2 separate regions of the Homo sapiens genome follow, and region 2 is linked to region 1. Evidence: promoter capture Hi-C in human tissues and cell types (Jung and others, 2019). All regions are on one chromosome and are shown on one strand. The core of a region is centred on a gene start or on the middle of the fragment in contact, and the rest is flanking DNA. Distances in the headings are between cores, read along the strand shown.

The links. The method cuts DNA at HindIII sites, captures the fragments that hold promoters and counts their contacts. A contact is called where the count stands out against the background at its distance.
Region 2: a fragment that was not itself captured here is called in contact with the fragment with the promoter of UBALD2 in region 1 in 1 of the 25 tissues and cell types used here (hippocampus).

What each region holds. Positions count from the first base shown.
Region 1 is chr17:76,261,796-76,269,293 of GRCh38, reverse strand. UBALD2 (UBA like domain containing 2) reads right to left here and starts at 3,946. Exons shown (of 3, transcript NM_182565.4): 1 at 3,669-3,946; 2 at 3,325-3,387. The coding sequence starts at 3,788. LOC105371896 (a long non-coding RNA gene) reads left to right here and starts at 4,213. Exons shown (of 6, transcript XR_007065913.1): 1 at 4,213-6,691. RefSeq lists enhancers at 934-1,163, 3,134-3,233, 4,494-4,543, 6,112-6,201 and silencers at 3,404-3,543, 3,844-4,143, 7,012-7,306. The HindIII fragment of the contact is 4,971 bases long and covers 2,365-7,335 here.
Region 2 is chr17:77,311,543-77,319,040 of GRCh38, reverse strand. The region is part of intron 2 of SEPTIN9 (septin 9); the gene reads right to left. Among named protein-coding and RNA genes, the nearest start is that of SEPTIN9-DT, 33 kb to the right of the region's middle. RefSeq lists enhancers at 1,345-2,180, 3,853-4,688. The HindIII fragment of the contact is 3,030 bases long and covers 761-3,790 here.

The DNA of each region.
Region 1 (7,498 bases), core at 2,697-5,196:
CTGTCTTCTGTCACTACCCTGGGGGCAGGGGCTGGAGTGCCATCCAGGAGCACCTCGTCAGCAGCATGGGCAAGAGGCAACACAGAGAACAAGACCACACAAAACTGGCTGGGACCTCAAAGCTGCTTTCTCCCTTTCCCAGGAAGCCACAGGAGTCCTTCTTTGAATTTCTCCTAATTTTAGCAACACTGGCCCCTCCCCCAGGCGCAGGAGTTGGGGGAACGACTTGAGGGCTCTTCACCTTGAAAGAGGGAGCTTTGGCAGGGCGCAGTGGCTCACGTCTGTAATCCCAGCACTTTGGGAGGCCGAGGCGGGTGGATCACCTGAGGTTAGGAGTTCGAGACCAGCCTGACCAACATGGTGAAACCCTGTCTCTATTAAAAAATACAAAAATTAGCTGGGTGTGGTGATGGGCGTCTATAATCCCAGCTACTTGGGAGGTTGAGGCCGGAGAATCACTTGAACCCGGGAGGTGGAGGTTGTAGTGAGCTGAGATCACGTCACTGCACTCCAGCCTAGGTGGCAGAGCAAAACTCCGTCTCAAAAAAAAAAAAAAAAAAAACAGAGGGAGCTTTCACAGCTAGAAACCGGAGGTTGTGTAGGGGGTGTGTAACATACATGGAATGGGGACACTAGCACACCCTGTCCATTGAGCCCCACACCATGTCAGCACCCAGGGCACCAAGGGAGCTCTGACCCTTGCCTTTCTAGGGGTCCTCAGGGGGAGGCCAAAGGACCCAATGCAGAGGCCTGGCCCCACCCAGACCTTTCCCCTCCTCCCTCCACTACTCCCTGCCCCCCCCCCACCCTCTGGGGATGACTTCTCGGCAGCAGGAAACAATGAATGAAGGGTGGGGGTGGAGGCCAATTGCATCACAGCATCGTGACCGACTTCCCCAGTTCCCCGCCAGCCAGCGAGGCCTGTCTCCTCAAACAGCCGCCAGAGAACAGCAGGGATGATGGCTGGCAGGCCTGTGGTGGCCTGCCTGTGTAAGCTTGGGCAAGTTCCTGAACCTCTCTGGAGCTTCTCTCTGCTTTTGTAAAATGAGGGTTTTGAACCAGATATGCCCTCTCGGCCAGTTCTCAAGAAAACCCATTGTCCCCTGTACCTTTGTCCTCCCACTTCAAGTCTGTAGTGCCTTTCTCCACTTCCAACTGGGAAGCCCTCCTTATCAACTGGGAAGCTTCCAACTATGGGAATCTACAGTAATGTACGGGACAACCATTTATCAGTTACTCATGACTTCTGGTTTTGCCATTTTGCTGTTACTGGTCTCTAGTGTTTCGTTTTTTGATCTTTTTCCTTTGACTTACTTTGTCCAAAATAAATTGCCAGGCCGGGTGCAGTGGCTCACGCCTGTAATCCCTGAACTTTGGGAGGCCGAGGCAGGCGGACCACCTGAGGTTGGGAGTTCGAGACCAGCCTGATCAACATGGAGAAACCCCGTCTCTACTAAAAATACAAAATTAGCCAGGTGTGGGATTACAGGTGGCACGTGCCTGTAATCCCATGAGGCAGGAGAATCGTTTGAACCCAGGAGGTGAAGGTTGCGGTGAGCCGAGATCACACCATTGCACTCCGCCTAGGCAATAAGAGTGAAACTCTGTCTCAAAAAAAAAAAAAAAGAAAAGAAATTGCCAGCTGGGTGCAGTGGCTCACACCTATAATCCCAGCACTTCGGGAGGCTGAGGCGGAAGGATAGCTTGAGGCCAGGAGTTCAAGACCAGCTTGGGCCACATAGAGACTCCCCCTGCCCTGGCCTTTCTCAAAAATAAAATTAGAAAAAAAAAAAAAAAAAAAAAGAAACCATGAACTTTTTGAGAGCAGGGATGGTGTCCTCCACTGTGCTGCTAAGGCACTCAGACTTGGGCACTGATGGACACACTGGTTATGTGTGTTACAAAACCTGCTGCCTTCCTTGAGGGAAGCTTCAAAAGAGACTTAGCATCTCCTTGGGATTTGCAGAGGAGGGGCAATAGGAACTAAACAGGATGCCAGACCAGCTCTTCCTGGGGAGCCTCCCTGTTCTCAGCCCCTCAGAATGGCTGTAGTATCTGGAAGTTCTGAGTTTTTTGGGATGGCCACAGCTGGTGGAAGGAAATCTCAAGGATCCGGTGACAGGAGATGGCAGGAAGCTTCGAGACTCAAGCATAGGCGGGTGCTGGCCATTTCTCCTGGTCAAGTGCAGGGGACGGTGTCCCCTGGAGATGAAACCCTCTTGGGTTTCTAAGAGCCCTGTGGCCAGCACCATGCTCCCATCATACTCAAATGCCATTTTGGCTTGATTTATATACAGCATCAGCCATTCTGAGAAAAACTAGCTAACAAGGTCAAGACAGACCCCTCTACTTGTCCTCTGTGACTAGATGAAAACAGAGAGCCAAAGGCAAGGGCACCAAGTGTTAAAAATCCCAAAAATGCACCTAGAGTCCACAACAGCTCTCCTGGGGAACAATGTTTTAAGATCCCTATCGCTGAGCCCTGCCCCTCCTCCCCCAGCAGGGCTAATAGGTAACTAGGGGGGTAGGGTACAGGAGAGATGTCCTGGGCCTCAAGAAAGCAGAGTACCCCATGGCCAGGAGGGCAAAAGCTTGGGCCTGGGCTAGAATGAAAAAGAAAGCAAATCCAGACCCCGGACCACTTCTCTGTGTGCTGGGCTGGTGGAGCTCAACACAGAGATTAAAGACACATTCCTGGCCTTATCTTGGGTCAAAATCTGTGTGTCCTCCTGGCTTGGGGGATGTATGTCCTTCCAACTTCCCAGTCCCCTTGGGCTTCGGAAGGTTGAACAGATCTTTGTGGGTAGAGCCCGGCTTCCTGAGCCAGGGTGGATTCATGCCTTTCCTGTTCCCTGTAGCGCTGGGTGTGTGTGTGTGTGGAGGGGGAGGGGGGAAACCACTCAACAGCACGAGGGGGTCCCCATAAACACAAGCACCCCCATCGCCCTCCCTGGGCCCTTCGCGCGGGCTTCCCAGTGCCCCAGACGTCCGGGCATCACCCTCTCCCCCTCCCCATCCCCTGGCTCTGGGGTCCCCCAGCTCCTGAGCCCCTCGCCAGGCCCCCGGCCCTCTCCCCCTCCCCCCAACTTTGGCGCCGCTTCCCCCCAGGGACCAGTGCCGGGCACCAGTCCCGAGGCCAAGCAGCAGCAGCCCGGGAGGCGGGCCTCAAAGTTGGAGGCGCCAGCGCCGGCCCGGGAGCCGCTCTTTCCTGGAAGACATTTTGGCTCTTTGTTTACATTCGCGGCGCGGCGCTCCCCGGCAACATGGCTGTCACCGCCGCGCTGACAGCGGCCCCGGCCCGCGCCCCTGCCCGCCGCCGCTTACCATCTGGTGGTGGTGGTGGCTGTTGGGAATGTTGGTTTCTTGGAAGAACGTGCTCAGCGCGGTCTGCGGACAAACAGGGCAGTGACACGGCGGGCCAGGCGGAGTCAGGAAACGCAGCGGCTGGGCCCCCCACCGGCTCTCCCCGCCTCCGCGCCCGGCCCGCGGCCCCCGACCCTCGGCTGCCCCACGTGCAGAGGGGAGCCGGTCCCGGCCCCGGTCCCGCGTAAGACCCGCTCGCGGGCGCCGATCGCCTTCCGGGCCGACAACAGGAGCGCTCCCCGCCCCCGCCGCCGCCCGGCGTCCCCGACCCCCGCGGCCCGGCCCCGCGGCGGCCAGGCTCGCACCTCGAACTGCCAGTGGGCCGCCTGCAGCAACTGCTTCGCCTGGTCGGCCGCGCAGCCCGCGGCCAGCACGAACTGGTTGATCATGACCTGGTGCCGCAGCTCGTCCATGTTCACCGACATGGCGCGGCGCGGCGCGGGGCCCGGCGTCTCCGGCCGGACGCAGACGCGGGGCTGCGCGGGCGCGGGAGGCCGGCCGCCCGGGGCTCCGGGGCTCGCGCTCACCGCTGCTGCCGCCGCTCCGCCGCCCGCTCCGCCGCCGCCCGCCCGGCGAATGTTGTGGTTCGACTCCCGCGGCCCGGCCGACACCACAAACAACAGCGCGGGGCGGGGCTGGGCCGGCCCAACGTTCGGGGACTGCCGCTGATTGGCCGGGGCGCCGCTCCGCCAGCGCCCGGCTCCCGTAAGGACGTTCGATTCGAATCCTGCGGCCTGTGGGGCCCTCACTGTTTCTCTTTTCGCCCGGCCGCGCCCATTGGCGGAGCTCGGCGCCGTGGGGCTCCCCAGCATTGGCCGGCCGCTGTGTTTTGGCTCATCCGGCCTCGTGGTTGGTCACGGCCGGGCGTTCGGGGCGGGGCCGCGCACTCTGATTGGCCTCCGGTGGTCCTGTTTGAACTCAACTTGAAAACCCGGAGTGCCTGCTGATTGGCCGAGGGCCCTCTGTTTGCTGTTGTAGGCTTGGGGGTGGTGCGGCCAAGTTCATTCATTACTTCATTGAAACAGAACATGCTCAGCTGGAAAAGCAAGACAGAGTGGCTTTGACTCATTTCCTCTGAAAGATGTGGTCATCTCGAGAAACAGAATGATCAAAATAGAAAACAGAGCCTTTGCAGCTGCTCAAGTCTCAAAAGCATGTAATTTTTAAAAATAACTTTCAAGCAGTCCAATTTAAAAAAATCTTTTATTGAAATATAACGTACATTAGGAAAGTGCGATGTCGCAGGTACAGCTTCCAGACTTTTCACCAAGTGAACACCCAGATCAATTAACAGAACGTTACTTGCACCCTAGGAACCCGCGTCCTGCCCTCTTCTAATCACTACCCACCGCAAGGATCGAGCAGTATTTTCTCAGTTTTTAGACCAAAGACTTTGCTCTCTGAAGATGGAAGCCAAGATTTATGTACAATAAATACGATATGCAAGGAAATATGCAAGGAAAAAAGTGAGACTTTCTCAGTGGCCAAAATGCCAAGTCAAGAATTTTTTCTTGTTAAATCGGTTGACCTAACTGAAGCTTTAATTTTCTTTTTTTTTTTTTCTCTTGCTTGTCACGAAAGCTAAGATGAAGCTTTAATTTCTACCATCTTTTAAAAAAACAACGGGTGGCAGTAGGGGTGGAGTCTGGGGTTGGGATGGCTTACACCTATAATCCCAGCACTTTGGGAGGCCGAGACAGGAGGATAACTTGAGGCCGGGAGTTCAACACCAGCTTGGGCAACATAGCACAGACTCCATCTCTACCAAATAAAAACAAACAATAACAAACAGTGAGTGTTTCTACAGAGATACTGTTTCTCAGTGGTAGCCCTTTAAAGTCCAAAATTTGGTGGTGGTGGTTGTTAGATAGGGCTAGAGTGACATGATCATGGCTCACTGTAACTTCGAGCGATCCTCTTGCCTCAGCCTCTCGAGTAGCTGGGACTACAGGCACACACCACCATGCCTGACTAATTTTTGAATTTTTGGTAGAGATGAGATCTCACTATTGTTGCCCAGGCTGGTCTTGAACTCCTGGACTAAAGTGATCCTCCTGCCTCAGCCTCCCAAAGCACAGGGATTACAGGTGTGAGCCACCATGCCTGGCCCCAAATTTGTTTGTATGTGCTGAGCTTCCATCTTCTGGATTAGAGTTTGATCTTCAGGGCTGTGTTTGAGAATTGTGGGGGTAGGAAAAGAACTAGGAGTTTAAGCAGATTGGGGAAGGGGCAGAAGAGATTGGGAAGATAAATATTGTTAGGGATTCACTGTTAAGAGTTTCTGTTTCAGGAGAACTTTGTGAGTTTTTTATCTGAACTACTAATTACAGAGTGTATTTTAACCAGCTAAAGGTCTGCAGAACAGAAGGAGGCTTATAATAAGAAAGCACGTCGTGGTTCTATCTTGACTTTGCCTAAATTGGATTTAACTCCCTATCTAAGAAAACTTGACAGTATGTATTTTTAAAGTTTACAAACAAGAAGAAGATTACAATTAATGTTAATGTTTCTGTACTGATGAAAAACAAATTCAGGTACTATCATGAGCTCATTCCATTTGGTTCGTTTTTTGTTTATTTGTTTGTTTTGAAGGAGTAGGAGTCAGCTTTTTCCTGGGAATGGCCCTGAAGTACACGTGGGCTGGGACCTGGCGTGTGGCTGGAGACTCCAGTATAGCTTGCAGCCTTCCCGTCCAGTAATTGCAAGGTGAAAACAAAAGTGAGCAGCTGGCAGCATACACTGCCAGGGAGCTCAGGCCGCAAGCAGCCCAGAAGAAGGAAGTACTGTCACTGTGGGGCTCCAGGTTTTCATAAGTACATGCGGGTGTCAAACATGCCAGGGCCGTGAGTAGGAGGGTCTACCCTGGGGAGAGACATTTCTGGCTGTAGTGGAATGTCCCCTATGAGCCCGTAGGTCTTAATTCAGAAGTAAGTTCCCAAGGAAAGCAAGAGTCCAAAGTTGCCAAACCTGTTATTTCCTGGAAATCAAGGCAGTTTATCCAGTTTATGTAATGTTTAACAATTGCAGGGCCCAGCTGTGGGCACCTGGGCGGGGCATGGAGGGCAAGGCCCCCAAGCCAGAGAGACTCAGGTACTAGTTATCTTCTGTGGGCCTAAGGTCACTCAGGAAGAAGGAAGGAGAGCAACAGAGCCCGTGATTTGTGGTCCTGAGACATGGAAGTGCTTAATCCATATTTTGGCTTCTGAGAATCCGGTTGGAGATGAGTAGCTGGGAAACTTAGGACTGTCCCACTCCTGGGAGAATGAATGAGGTCATGTTTGTAGAGGGCTTTGAGCTGATGGGAGGAAAGCAACTTCCTAAATGCAAGGTATTATTAACTGAAGGTACTATTATTTTAATCTGAGAGGACAATGTATGGTAGGTAAAATAGAGCAACTTTGGGAGGCCGAGGCGGGTGGATCACGAGGTCAGGAGATCGAGACCATCCTGGCTAACATGGTGAAACCCTGTCTCTGCTAAAAATACAAAAAATTAGCCAGGCATGGTGGCAGGCGCCTGCAGTCCCAGCTACTCGGGATGCTGAGGCAGGAGGATGGCATGAACCTGGGAGGCAGAGCTTGCAGTGAGCCGATTTTGTGCCACTGCACTCCAGCCTGGGTGACACAGCGAGACTCCATCTCAAAAAAAAAAAAAGGCTTGAATCACAAATAAAACATGGTATCCTCAGAAAGAAAATCCTTGTTACATCAATGGTCTGGGCTCCAGGACAAGCGGTGAGGCAGCAACCAAGAAGAGAAACAATCTTAGCAGTATTTCCTCCGTTCCCGGATGACAAGGTTGTTGTGAATGCAAGTCATTGAATGAGTCCTGAAACAGGCACACAATAGCCGGACCATAACAAGCAGCTGCCAGTTACCAAGCACTTCCTGTGAGCCAGGCAGCTCTCTAAGACTTGAATGTCTATTAACTCATTTCAATCCTCCCCCAAATCCAGAATCTCATTTCACAGATGGGGCTGCTGAGGGACAGTGGAGGGGAAGAGTGTCCAGCGGTGGAGCGAGGCAGTGGTTAGCTCACCCATGCTACCTCCCTTCCCGCTGCAGCTGTCACTTCCGTGGGACTCTCAAAGGGCCCCTTCCCCAAAAGATCTATAGAGGGCACTAAGAGTTCCACT
Region 2 (7,498 bases), core at 1,026-3,525, 1.1 Mb before region 1:
GAGGACGCGTGGCCGCACCACGGAAGCCTTCCTGCCTGGCCGCACAGGGCTGGTATAAGACAGTTCTGCTCTTCAGACAAAACACTTTTCAGTCTGTGCTGCTCCCCAAGGCCCCCAACAAATTTACAATATTTGCACCCCTCTACCTCGACACACCCCGCAGGCCTCTGAGTTTACAATCCCTGCCCCACAGAGCCAGGTGAGTTACCTGTGACCAGGTGAGGCCCATGCACAGCCCTCGGCTAGATGACAGAGCCAAAGGCCCTGAAGTGCCACTTCAGGCCACAGTCCCGTCCGCTCTCTGCCTGGGATAGGACCCCAAATGCAATCTCCTTGGCAGAAAGGACATCTTCCTGGGGGGTGGGGAGGACCATTCCCAGCCTTCTGGGAGACATCAAGCAACCACCTCCTCCCAAAGAGCCTGGAGGACAGCCCCACAGGCAGCCAGACAGTGAGGGAGGTGGGGACAGCATCTCAGCCGAGGTGGGAGGCTGGGGAGGAAGGGAGGGATCATAGTCACGAGAGAAGGCTGAATAATGGCCCCAGGGATAGCATGTCCTAATCCCTAGACCTGCAAATGGGACCTTGTTTGGAACAAGAGTTTTTGCATCTGTGATTCAGTTGCAGATCTTGCTGTGGCGAGAGCACCCTGGATGGTCTAGGTGGTCCCTAAAGGCAGTCTCGGTGCTCATACAAGACGGGGGCAGAGGGAGATTTGACACAGACAGGGATGGCCAAGTGGAGATGGGGCCCGGAGAGATCTGTAGATGCTGGTGTTGAAGGTAAGGGCCATGCAGCCACAAGCCAAGGGACACCCACAGCCACCAGAGGCTCAAAGGGGCAGGCGATGAAGGCAGTGGCCCCCAACCTTTTTGGCACCTGGGATCGGTTTCAGGGAAGACAATTTTTCCACAGACCAGGGAGTGGGGAGATGGTTTTGAGATGATTCAAGTGTATTATATTTATTATTTTATTTTATTTTATTTTATTGAGACAGAGTCTCGCTCTGCCACCCAGGCTGGAGTACAGTGGCACTATCTCAGTTCACTGCAACCTCCGCCACCTGGGTTCAAGCAATTCTTCTGCCTCAGCCTCCCAAGAAGCTGGGACTACAGACGCCTGCCACCGTGTCCGGCTAATTTTTGTATTTTTAGTAGAAACGGGGTTTCACCATATTGGCCAGGCTGATCTTGAACTCCTGACCTCGTGATCCGCCAGCCTTGGCCTCCCAAAGTGCTGGGATTACAGGCATAAGCCACTGTGCCTGGCCTTTATTTTTTATTTTTTGAGACAGAGTTTCACTCTGGGATTACAGGTGTGAGCCACTGCACCCGGCCACAAGCACGTTGTATTGATTGTGCACTTTATTTCTATTATTATTATAATATATAATGAGATAATTATACAACTCACCATAATGTAGAATCAGTTGGAGCCCTGAGCTTATTTTCCTGCAACCAGACGGTCCCATCTGGTGGTGATGGGAGACGGTGACAGATCATCAGGCATCAGATTCTCATAAGAAGCACGCAACCTAGATCCCTCACATGTGCCGTTCACAATACGGTTCACTCTCCTATAAGAATCCAATGCCATGGCTGATCAGACAGGAGGCAGAGCTTGGGCAGTAATGCGAGCAATGGGGAGTGACTGTAAATACAGATGAAGCTTCGCTCGCTTGCCAGTCACTCACCTCCTGCTGTGCAGGCCAGTTCCTAATAGGACACACGGGGCTGGGAACCCCTGCCCTAGAGCCTCCAGAGGGCTATGCCCAGTGGACACCCTGATTTCAGCCTGGTGACCCTGATCTCGGATGTGTGGCCTGCAGAGCTGTGAGAGGATGGCTGGGCGTTGTTGTGACCCAGCCAGCTTGTGGCCACTCGTTACAGCAGCTGCAGGAAACTGATGCAGCGCCACAGACGGAGCCAGGGCTCAGCTCACTGGAGTTGCTTTCTGTTATTCTATTTCTTCCTAAAACATTGTGTTAAGCCAACCACTAACAACCACTGACTCCGATGGGCAGGAATCGCAGAGGTTTCTTGGTTTGTTTCTTTAATCCCTTTTCCAATTTTGAAATAATATTCCTTGTTGGTTTTTCTGATTATAAATGTAATATCTTTCTTTGTATTGAGTTTAGAAACAAGAGAAAAAGTAAAAAGCAGAAACCCCAGCTGGGCAAGGTGGCACGTGCCTGTAATCTCAGCACTTTGGGAGGCTGCGGCGGAAGGATTGCTTGAAGCCAGGAGTTCGAGGCTGCTGTGAGCTATAATTGCACTACTGCACCCTGGCTGGGTAAAAAGAGTGAGACCCTGTCTCAAATTAAAAAAAAAAAAAAAGAAGAGGAAGAAAACCCATTAACCTCACTCGAGACTCTCCATACGAACTCCTGCTGTGGGGCAGGGAAGCCCAGGAAGGCCCCACGAGGCTCTGACCCAGCCTGGCTGGCGGTGGGAACTTGGGAACAGCCCCGAGTGAGGGGCCGGGCTATGACTGAGTTCATTCACCCAGCCACCTCCTGCACGCTGTGCACACTATGGGTTTGACGGCCAGGGCTGGAGCACTTGCTGAGCACAGCCTTGACCCTCAGTTTTACCCAGCATGGTTTGGCCTGAGGTCCATCTCCCCTCCGTGCCTGAAAATCCAAACATTTTGGCCCAGGCGGGGGATCACTTGAAATGGAAAACCTGGCAGCACCGATTGGCTCTGAAGAGGCAGGAGTTAGTCATGAGCCGGCTGGGAGGCGAGTGCAGAGGTGGTGAGGTAAGGCCAGCAGAGGGTGGGGGAGGCGAGGGCCAACCTCTCACCGCGCATGGTGTAAGCACTAAGGGGGCACTTCACCAGGCCAGTGCAGACCCAGGCCCCTGCGGTGGATCCCCCGCGGTCCCTCCCTCCAGAGGAACACTGAAGAGGTTTCTGTGGTCCTGTCTTAGATTCAGAGGCACATTTGCATACTAAACGCACTGAGTAATCCTACAGTGAGGGAGCCGGGCTTGGTTTAACCCACCTTTTCCCAAATTGGACCAAAGGTTGCTGTCCCAGGAAGGCAGGGCCCTCAGGCCCACGGCTTTGGGAAACTCTGGTTGTGCCAGCCTATGAGCCCAGCTCCCAGCCACCCCAGCCTGCCCACACCCTGGAGTGGGCACTGTTACCCAAAAGCCCCTTCCAGACAGTTCTCAGGGCGGCATCCCTGTCCTTCACCCCCCATAGACCCCTGGCCACTTTTCTGCGACATCAGCATCACTGGTTCACAGCTCCTCTTAATTGCAAAGTGGGGCTCAGCGGCACAGGCTGGGCCTGGCAGGGCGGGAAGGAAGAGCGAAGGCCACTTTGTCTCCAATAGCACTGGCCGGGCTCTGGAAAGGCCGGAACCCACAGACAGGAAGGAAGTGTCACACTCACTCAACCTGCTTTGCGTCAGCCAGGGGGCATCTTGTAGAAAGAAGTTAGGTGGTCGTGGCCGGGTGCAGTGGCTCATGCCTGTAATCCCAGCACTTTGGGAGGCCGAGGCAGGTGGATCACAAGGTCAGGGGTTCCAGACCAGCCTGACCAACATGGTGAAACCCCGTCTCTACTAAAAATACAAAAATTAGCTGGGCATGGTGGCGCATGCCTGTAATCCCAGCTATTCAGAAGGCTGAGGCAGGAGAATTGCTTGAACCTGGGAGGTGGAGGTTGCAGTGAGCCTAGATCACGCCACTGCACTCCAGCCTGGGCGACAGCGCGAGATTCCATCTCAAAAAAAAAAAAAAGAAGTTAGGTGGTCATTCTTCAGTCTCTGGCTTGGCCTAGGAACTGCTTCTTTTTCAAGATGCTATCAAATGCCTCCTCCATTAGGAAGCCTTCCCTGGTTGCCCCCTCCACTCCTGTCCTTGCCCCAGAACACGGCCCGGCCCTCACGGACAATCCTGACATCAGAGCCTAATAGAGATTTTCCTCTTCATGGAAATTCATACTCCAAACTGAATATGTGTGCAGGATAAGCCCCTGTTCCCATGTGAAACAAAAGTGAAAGGTGCGGATCACCTGCCTTTCCCCACCCCTTCTCACAACAATCTGGGCTCCACAGGGGCCCAGTAGGAGCCAGGTCCAGTTCAGCCGCCCCAGGTGCACCATCCTGGGCACCAGCGCCTCTGTCCCCTTCCACGAAGCACAGCTTCATCCCCTGGTACCCAGTGGGGAGGGGACACATACCAGGCATTCCCCAGGGTGGACTGTGCTCCCCACACCAGGCCAGGAGGCCCTGGGGCTGGTCCAGCCATCCAGAAAAGGGAGCAGGCGGTCCAGGTGACACTGATGTGGGCAGCAGGGGCCTTCGGGAAAGGGTCTTCGTAGGATCGGCCCCACCTTGCTCCAGGAGTACACACTGGGGAAGGGTGCTGCGCGGAGGTGGAGAGAACGCATCTTTGGCTGAAAGCATGCTTTCTGATGCTCTGGGCTCGGATTTGCTGCCATCTTCCATGTCCCCTCACCTAACACACGTTCCAGTAAATCCTCCATGCTGATGAGCGCCAAGCTATAGAGGACGCACAACCTCTCGCTTTAAAAAGTGACTTTTCCTGCTGGGTGTGGTGGCTCACACCTGTAATTCCAACACTTTGGGAGGCCAAAGTGGGAGGATCACTTGAGGCCAAGAGTTCAAGACCAGCCTGGGCAACATAGAGAAATCCCATCTCTACAAAAAAAAAAAAAAAAAAAAAAAGTCCAGGCACAGTGGCTCATGCCTGTAATCCCAGCTACTTGGGAGGCTGAGGCAGGAGAATCACTTGAACCTGGGAGGCAGAGATTGCAGTGAGCCAAGATCATGCCACTGCACTCCAGCCTGGGCAACAGAGCAAGACTCCACCTCAAAAAAAAAAAAAATTTTTTTTTTTGAAACAGGGCCTTACTCCCTTTGCCCAGGCTGGAGGACAGTGACGTGATCACAACTCACTGCAGCCTCAGCTTCCCGGGTAGCTGGAACTACAGGGCTGTACCACCACGCCCAGCTAACTTTTTGTATTTTTAGTCAAGACGGGGTCTCGTCATGTTGCCCAGGCTGGTCTGGAGCACCTGAGCTCAAGTGATCCTCCCACCTCGGCTCCAAAAGTACTGGGATTACAGGCATGGGTCACCATGCCTAGCCTGAAAACATTTCTTTTAAGAATTAGCCAGTCATGGTGGCGCACAACTGTAGTCCCAGCTACTTAGGAGGCTAAGGCAGGAGGATCCCTTGAGCCTGGCAGGTTGAGGCTGCAGTGAGCTATAATTGTGCCACTGCACTCCAGCCTGGGGGACAGAGAAAGACCCTGCCTAGAAAGAAAAAAGAAAAAAAAAAGACTTTTCCATTCATTTCCTGCTCATCCTCAGACTCAACCACTGAAGTTTGCTTCCCTGAATTAAAAATGAAGGAGCTCCGTCCTGGACTCCCTCCTGCTGACCCTGCTACTGTACCTGCCAGCAGAGCCAGCCAAGACCCTCCAGGCTGGCCCCAGCCTGGCCCGCCTACAGCCTCCCAAGCAAGACGGATTCCCAGGCTGAGGCCAGCTGCATTCCTCTCTGGAATCTTTCTCCACTTTTTATTGTGCCTCAGACTTTGGCTGTTCCTAAATAAATACAATCCAGCTATCTCTGCCCTTGGGGCCGCTGCAGGGTTTACTGGTGCAAACCGCCTGGGCAGGCCTGTTGCTTTAGGAGTCCTTCCAGGTCAGCGTGGAAGGAAACCAAGACAACGGGGAGAAGCAGCCCGGTTGGGCCCAATTCCACTCTCACATGCTCGTGCTCAGCCAACCATCTGGGCTGTAGCCTGACAGGAGCTGGAGCTGGCGCTCCATTCCTAGAGGGGGCCCCCGACTGCCCCTGCAGAGCGAGGGAGGTCTGGGGGTGCAGAGGCCAAGGGCCCTTGCAGAGTTTGCCCCAGGTCCCCTGAGTTTAAGCTTCTCTGCAGCCAACGGAAGACTCCCCCGAGAGCGGGTGTCTTTCATCCTGCTTGCTCAGTAGGTGCCCAGTAACCGTTCACTGGATAAACAATGAATTTGTGGATCCAACGTGAAGATGATCTAAACCAGCGCCCCCCCATAGAACTCTCCGCAATGATGTCAATGTTCTGTATCTGCCGTAGTCAATATGGCAGCCACATGTGGCAGTGAACGCTTGCAATGTGGAAGGGCTACCAAGGCAAAGAGTTTCGCATTTATGTTATAATTTAAACTTAAATAGTCACAAATGCCTAGCGTGTGCCCCGTTATACAGACCCTTTTTGTCACCTTCTTCTCCTCCCTAGAGACATTGCATTCGCCATCAATTTCTTACCCGGGAGGCAAACGGAGAAATGCTACTCTTTAGCCAACGCAAAAGAAGGCCAATATTTGCATTTTAAGCTAGTTTTTTGGGCAATTCTCCCAAGCATCTCCTATCAAGGTCAGTCCAGCAATATTTCCTGACTGCCTGCCACGCACCAGGAAAGCATCCCGCCGTGGCTCTGGTCCGAGGCTATGGAGGACACAGAAATAACCAAGGCCAAGCTGATAGAAGGGGTGTGACAAGATGGCCCAAAGTCACTGAGTCAGCTAGGAGGTCCAGGAGCATGGAAGCCCTGCTTTCCAGAGGACAAGTGGCAACCCATCCAGGGGGGGCCCGAGCACTCAGAGCCAGGAGCGCAGAAGCAGGGGGCTCCAGGCTGGAAAGCGGTATCAGGGCCAGGCTGGGCGGCAGCACGAATCCACCCTCGAGGCTTTGGGGGCGGAAACTAAGGGCTCTATGAGTAAGAAGACCCGGCCCAGGTCTAATGGAAATGATCGGGTGGAGGGATCCTATCACCCGGTCCCCAGCACACAGGGAGGGAAGTGGTAATCGTCCTCTAAATGTTGGCCGTGGAGGGGAAGGAGCCACAGCAGGGCAGGGGTGGGGAGGATGGCACCTGCTGGTCCAAGGAGGGATGATGGAGGCCCAACCAAGACATGACCGTGACCGGGGCAGCCTGTCCAAGGGTCAGTATGCAGAGGGCGAGTTGATGAGATCTTGGCAGCCTGTTGAGACCTGGGGGTGCTGGGGAGGCAGAGGTCAAGGTCAACTCTGAGATTTCCTGCTTGCAAACCTGGGTGGGTGGCAAGGCTGATATCAGAGAAATAGAGGAAGAGTGGGTAGCTATGGGTGAGAGAGGAAGTAATGAACTAGGGGTGCCTGCAAGAGCCCAGGGGCAAGGTCCTCGGGCAGCCAAGATGCTGGTGGTCTCTTCCACGACCAGCTCCCTCCACGTGGCACACTTTTGTCTGCATGGCTGGGCATGGGGCACCTGTTCGTCCGACACACTTTGAGCAGCTACTCTGTGCATTGAGGCAACGTGGCACGGTGCCCTGGGGAAATAGCGAGGAGGCACTGCACAGGCCCCACCCTTCTGGCATTTTCTGTCTCCTGGGGATGGTGGCAGTTAAATAAGTGACAGCCAATTGTCAGGAGAGTTTGGCTCTGATTCACCAGGTGGAGCCAGGCACTCCTGCCGGAAGAGGCATGGGAACTAGCA